Linked DNA regions of Homo sapiens: region 1 is linked to region 2. The links are contacts of gene promoters, found by promoter capture Hi-C in blood cells and fetal thymus (Javierre and others, 2016). All regions are on one chromosome and are shown on one strand. Each heading gives the region's core, a stretch centred on a gene start or on the middle of the fragment in contact. The rest is flanking DNA. Distances are from core to core; before and after follow the strand shown.

Region 1 (3,599 bases), core at 1,005-3,504, 490 kb before region 2:
CACACATCATTATCCAGGTCTTCCTTACTGGTCATAATTAAGCCTTGACTAGCAGTTTCCTCTCATTACTTTTTCTGCCTACTGAGAGATGAAGTTGTCAGCAAGGCCAGGTAAATATTCATCAGATGTTCTGCATGAGACTTCCAGCAGATGTCCTGCTAGTTGAAGTCCCTCGTCACCACTAGATCTTGCCTCTGCCAATTTTTGCAATTCAGAGAAAAGCAACTAGAAAGATATCTGTGTACCAATTGCACATGCACGTGCCTTATCTCCTCTGTAAGAATAAAAGTTCCTGGAAGACTCCCTATTGTAAATGCCTTTCATATGTGCCTAGGGCTCTGCTGGATTATTATTATTTTTAAAATAAATTATTATCTAGACTGTAGGATTATTGCTTAATATGAAGTTCTCTTGAAAGAAATAACCGTTAAAGACCTTTTGGGATTTGATTCTGTGTGCTATCGGTCAGAGTACCCGCCACCCTTCCGCAAAGTGTGCCCCTCCTCCAGAAACCTGAGGGAAAATGTAAAATACCCTTACTTCTTGTAAACTTCTTACCAGAGACATCTAACTGACTTAAATCATCACACCTCTGGCTGGCCATTCAGCCAGTCTGAGCTGTTTGTTGTTGGTGTGCTAGACATATTTCTTTTTCTTTTCTTTCCTTCTTATTTATTTATTTATTTGTTTGTTTGTTTATTTATTTTTGAGATGGAGTCTCACTCTGTCGCCCAGGCTGGAGTGCAATGGTGTGATTTTGGCTCACTGCAACCTCCACCTCCCAGGTTCAAGAGATTCTCCTGCCTCAGCCTCCCGAGTAGCTGGGACTACAGGCATGCACCACCATGCCAGGCTAATCTTTTGTATTTTTAGTAGAGATGGGGTTTCACCGTGTTGGCCAGGCTGGTCTCAAACTCTTGACCTCAGGTGATCCATCCGCCTTGGCCTCCCAAAGTGCTGGGATTACAGGCGTGAGCCACTGCACCCGGCCTGCTAGACACATTTCTATGTATCGTTCATCTGCATAGTAATTCTTGGTGCCTCATCTAGGAGGCACCTTCCTAGGAGGCATCAGAAAAGAACCCTCAGAAAAGGATGGCTCTTTGCCATACTAATAACAAGGTTAAATTGTATATAACTTTCCTGAGGGAAGAGGTCAGCTCTCTGATTTACTCCAGCTATCAAAGGAAGTCAGTGAAATACAGTAAGACAATTACTTATTGAGCATCTACTTTGTGTCAGACACTGTTGTTAGGATAAAAAATGTAAAGATGAATAAGATCTCCCCTGCTATCAAAAAGCTCACAGATATGGTGGAAACAGGTGTATAAACAGATCATTGCAACACAATGTGGTCAGCACAGTGATGGAGATATTGGTCTGCTTATTACAAGGCACAGAGTGAAGGCACTCAGCCCAGACAGAGAGGAGTGGGGGAAGACCTGCTTGTCAGAGTGGCTTCATGTCAGCAGTGATGCTGAACTAAGTCTTAAAGCTTCATAAGAACACCCTGTTGTAAATGAATGTCATCCAATTTCATTTTTATTGGAGAAATATCATTTTGGTGCAAAATGAACCCTTATTTCCGCTTACTGGGAACATGATCAGCCTTTGGGTTTAAAGGCTGGACGGGAAATTGCTAGGTAGCTGTGGTTGGCCTATGCAATCACATGTAAATAGGCTTTGGGGCAAATATCTGGTTCCCAGTAGACCAACACCCCTATTATGTAAGGAGGCTGGACTCAGTTCTTGTTGGGAGAAGTCTGAGAGGATCTCAGGGGAACACAGGAGAAAAAAAAGCTGTTAGGGTCATGAGTCCCTGAAGAAGCCATTTAAAGAGCTAGGCAGGACACTGGACCATAAGAGGTAAAGGTTGGTGGACAAGAGAGCAGGCTGCTTGGAAGCAGTGCCTACACTAGAGGATCATTCCAGCAGTGGCTTCTAGGGACAATCTTCCTAGAAGGGCAGCTGGCCAGTCAACATCTCAAGCTCTGACCATTCCTGTTCTCTAGGGACACAGTTATCACATGCAGTCCGATCTCTGCCTCAGATACGTATCAATTCTTCAGTCAATGCAATGGGTCCAGTTATATCATGGATTCTCTGATTTGACTCACTCAAGTAATGCTCCTGGACATACTAAGATTTTAGAAAATCCCTGGTCACCTAATAGGGTAGTGGAAAAATTGTTTTGAGTTCTTTTCTATCACCATCTAGTGAATAAAGAGCTAAAAAAACCTCTTCTCAGGAGCCAGACTGAAGCAACATAGAGACAGAGGGAAGTGGATACCTCTGTTACCAAAGGACAAATAGGACCTAGGCAGGTGAGCTGAGAACGGAGGTGGGCACTTCAGAGAGAGGTGAGAATGTGAGCTAGAAGAGGGAGGAAAAATATCATGGTCGAGCAGAGAATGGCAAGCAGGTCTGTATTGTCATTGCTTGAAGTGGGAGGCGGGGAGTGACAGGGGAGGCGCACAGGCAGTAGACAATGGAGAACTTTGTAGAACAAGTTAGGGAGCCTGCATTTCATCTGGTAGGCAAAGTGGACTCATATGAAAGTTCTAAGCAGAGAAATGTAATGATATAGTTTGTTTCTTAAATGTCATACATAGATCACTTTGGAGGTTCTAGAGACAAAGGACTTGGGAGAGCAAACTGGGAAGCTGCTGTAATTGGCCAGATAAGAGAGGAAGTGACCTTAACTAAAAAAGTGATGGTAGAGTTGGGGAGAAGAGGATGGATCAGAGGAATATAGAAGTAGTAAAATCAGCAGAATGTAAATCAAAGAGGGCAGAGGAAGGAGAGGATCGTCAAGGATGGTGCTTTGGGTAAAAAGGCATTTGCACAGTCTGCCACATAATGGACATTTGATAAATATTTACACAAGTACAGTTCCCTGTCGTGATGATTGCTTTTCTATTACTACTACTGAGTGTTGCTAAAATGAGAATTCTAGTTTCAGCTTACTCACTGTGTGATCTTAGGAAAGTCATACTGTCTCTTCTATAAAATGAGAAGCTTTGAGTAGATAAATTCTAAAGTCCTTCCCATCTTTGACTTTTCTGGCAAAATATTGTGGACCAATATTGGAAACATATTATAAAGCTGATGACAATGTTTTCATAGATAGAGTTACTCCAAACTTCAAACAACCAACTTAAATGAATTTTTGGAAGAACATTCTAATTTGAGGACTGCCAGTACTCTCTTACCTCATTTCCATTTTCCCCCCGCAGGTATAATTTCTTCATGAGTATAAGTCTTGCCTGTCCAAAAAAGCTTAAGAGACTATGACATATGTTTTGGGTCTCCTATAATGGTATATATGGTATAGTGCCAGGTACATTTCATCATTCAAAATTTACTTGAGTTGAATTCAATTATGTCTCTCTGCAGGGGCTTGATCCTAAATACTTCAAGTATACACTCATTCATTCTTCTCTTCAATCAGCAGATACTTATAGAGTGCATAACCAGGTGCAAACTGAATAAGACATCAACAGTTCACTCAAGGAGTGAAGAGTGTAGCAGAGTAAATAAGATGTTTATGTAGGAAGCCATAGTGTGTGCTGGGAAGTGAATGATGGTATGGACTCTTA
Region 2 (3,494 bases), core at 611-3,110:
AGCCCCACAAGGTTCGTGTGGAAAAGGGGAGGAGTTTCCCAGAAGAGCCATAAAATTAAGAAAGCACTGCAAGCAAACAAAAACCAGTCATTTAAGTTCTTGGCAGTAACAACATATTTATACCTAGTGCTTCATTTTGCTCTGGAAAAAAAGCAGATCTGCTCTGCTGGGGCAATTCTAATGGCCTTTCCAGTGTGCTTTGAGAAAGTGGAGGGACTGCGTGGTATTGCTGGGCTTCCCATTTCAGGAGACCTGGGCCCAGCAGTTCTATGACATGATGATGAGCACTCTGGACCCAAACCAGACACCTGGCCAGTGTCCTGATTCTGAGACTGAAGAGCCCTGTGAATGTGGGCAATGCCCTCCTGCTTTCTGGGGGTCATGGGTGGGGAATTAAATAGAAGATCAGCGCTTCCTTCTCAGCTCTTGCCTTATGAGTTTTTTATAACATCATTTCTCCTTTCTGGGTGTTAGTTTTCTCATCTATGTGAGGTAAGAAATTATCTCCAAGATCTGTCCAACTTGAAATAAAAATGAAAACAAAACACCTCAAATTCTGATTCTTTTGGACCGTTTCCCAGCATAGTTAACGAGCTCCCAGACCAGACACTTTACCTCCATTCTCAGGCGCTGAGGAGGGTGGAGCAGGCCTGCAATGCATATAGGGGAACAAAGGCCCAGAGACAGAGACGTGGGAACCATGCAGTGTAAAAAAGCGGGAGGTACCAGAGACAGAGACGTGGGGCCCATGCGGTGTAAAAAACCGGGAGGTACCTTCAGGACCCACAGCTGGGCCTCAGGGCCACAGCTGGGGTTTGGTGAACACTTCGCCTTGCACTTCATACTTCAGTGCCCGCCAGTTCAGGACATTAGGACTGAAGGGCCCGCCAAGATAGATGGTGTTAATCTCATCTGGTGACAGCACAAAGTCCCACATGTTCACATTTCCAATGTCTCCCACCAGGGACTGGCTTCCTTCAAAGTTCCCACCGAAGGAATCCTGCTCCTGCCCCAAGATGATGCTTGCTTCTGCCCCCACAGTGTATCCCTTCTTCAGACTCTTCCTCACCCTGGGCTTCCCATCTACCCAGAACTCCACGATCCCTGAGGCGGACTCCCAGCTTGTACAAATGTGTACTGGAGCTACTGTGACTTCAGGAACCTCGAATAATATTTCAGACCCACCCACTGTAAAACTGTATCCTATATCCTTAGACCAAAATATGAGAATCTCATTGTCTTGTCTCTTGGTGGCATACGAGAAAATACTGTACCCACGGGTCGAGGACAGTTCCGTGTAGAAGTGGAGGCACACAGTGAAGGCTTTGAGAGGCTTCGTTAACGGTGCTTTGAGGGATACATAGGAAGTATCCGACTCTTTGGGAAACACAAAAGCCTTCCTCGACATGTCTGTGAGCCAGAAAAACAAGCAAATGTGAGAGGTTTCTCAGATCACACAGATCTATCCCCTCACTTACGTATAGAATTTAAGATTGAGAAACAGACTGACCCCTTCTCCAGTTACACACCACACACACACACACACACACACACACACACACACACACCATGAAGGATGCTCCACTGTTCTGTTCATACAGTCTTTTTTTTTTTTTTTTGAGACTGTTCATGCAGTCTTAGACCCCACCCCCATACCTCAGATCAAATCTCTCCCATAGCCTGGGGTGGCCCTTACCTGTCTGGCCAAAAGCATGAGAGAGGCTGGTCAAGACCAAGAAACACAACAGCTTCTCCATGGTCACGTCCTGCTGCCAGTGATACAAGGGCCTGAATTCACTCCTTTGGAAAAGATGTATTCGGCTGAAAGTTCAGGGGCTAGAAGTCCTAGATCTCTTGCCTTAGAGCTACCTCCTCCTGCCTGGATTTATATCCAAAGCAGTAAGGGAGTTTGCGCCACTATGTAAATAATTTTCCAACATTGCTTGTTGGGGCAGGTGTCAGAGCTTCGGGAAGAGGGGAAGCAAAATTATTTCAGAACAGAGAAATCAATGTGAGTTATTTATTACAAACTCCTATGACTACTGAATTACCAATTCTTTATGACAGGAAAAATGAAGAAATCTCTCAGGGCTCCACTTTGGCTATCTATCCTGCGAAAATAATGGGAAATGGTAACATATTAAACGAGTGGCCATCTGGGTGCACGTGGTAGCTGCCTCTCCAACACCTACTTCAGCCCAAATCATAGAGTTTGACAAAGGAAATCTGACAGCTTCTGGAGATGGACATTATCACTAACCCCTTTCAATTTGCTTATTTACAGACTGGGAAATGAGGAAAACAAACATGCTCCTCCCAGAGCCATGGACACATTTTTTTATTATTATTATACTTTAAGTTTTAGGGTACATGTGCACAATGTGCAGGTTAGTTACATATGTATACATGTGCCATGCTGGTGTGCTGCACCCATTAACTCATCATTTAGCATTAGGTATATCTTCTAATGCTATCCCTCCCCCCTCCCCCCACCCCACAACAGTCCCCAGAGTGTGATGTTCCCCTTCCTGTGTCCAAGTATTCTCATTGTTCAATTCCCATCTATGAGTGAGAACACGCGGTGTTTGGTTTTTTGCATGGACACATTTTCTCAGCCAATTGAGTACACTTATTAAGAACTCTCTAGACATCTTGGCACTAAATGACGGCCCTGACAGTAAAAGTCCAGTAAAATGTGTGCCTGATCACAGACATAGCATTATATCAAAGTTTCTTCCAACATTTTTCTCTGAATATGTAAAGCTTCAGGCAGGAGTCAGGATAATCTGATTCTACTCTTTCCTCTATTCACAAGATTCAAGTAATCCCTCCACACTGTCTGTCAATCTTACTACAGTTCCCTACTTAACTCACTCTTCAAAATGACTATTATACTCCTTCTCCTTGCTCCTCAAGTCCCCAAAATCTCATTTATTCTTTCATTCAGCTGATGAACTCACCTTTCATTGAGAAGTTAGAAGCAATCAGAAAAGAACCACCGTATCCTTTGTAGTAGAGTCTTCTAGCCATTCCCTAACATCCATTCTCTACTTCTCATAAGAGAAGAATAACATTTTCAGTTGGGCGCTTGGTCATCCCCTCAAACACCAAATTTCCCAGCCCCCACTGTAGCTTGCAGTGATGATGTGATTAAATTAAGGCCAACGAGATATGAACAGAATAGGGACCATCTCTAGGTTGTGCTCTTTAAGAAAGGTATGTGCTTTCCCCTCCCACTTCCCCCTTTTTCCCTTTGACTAGTATTCAGTCATGATAGCAGGAGATGGAATAGTTCACTTTCAGGCCAGCAAGTGTAAGCTGCATGTTGAGGTTGGCATGGCAACAAGATAGATGGAGCCTGGATAATTGGGTATGGAGCCACTGCATCAGCTCTAGGCTGCCTACCTGAAAATTTACTTAAAGGAGAAATACTCTCCTCTTTTGTTAAATCACTGTTAACTCAGTCTTTCTGTTCTTAACACCTAACTGATATC

The links. Contacts are between HindIII fragments. The CHiCAGO score rates a contact against its expected background, and 5 or more counts as called.
Region 1: a fragment that was not itself captured here is called in contact with the fragment with the promoter of CRP in region 2 in 5 of 17 cell types (endothelial precursors, M0 macrophages, M2 macrophages and 2 more); the score reaches 10.9 in endothelial precursors.

Annotation. Positions count from the first base shown.
Region 1 is chr1:159,223,023-159,226,621 of GRCh38, forward strand. No RefSeq gene overlaps it. Among named protein-coding and RNA genes, the nearest start is that of ACKR1, 20 kb to the left of the region's middle. The HindIII fragment of the contact is 1,523 bases long and covers 1,494-3,016 here.
Region 2 is chr1:159,712,729-159,716,222 of GRCh38, forward strand. CRP (C-reactive protein) reads right to left here and starts at 1,861. Exons shown (of 2, transcript NM_000567.3): 1 at 1,697-1,861; 2 at 1-1,410. The coding sequence starts at 1,757. The coding sequence ends at 797. The HindIII fragment of the contact is 4,063 bases long and covers 1-2,761 here.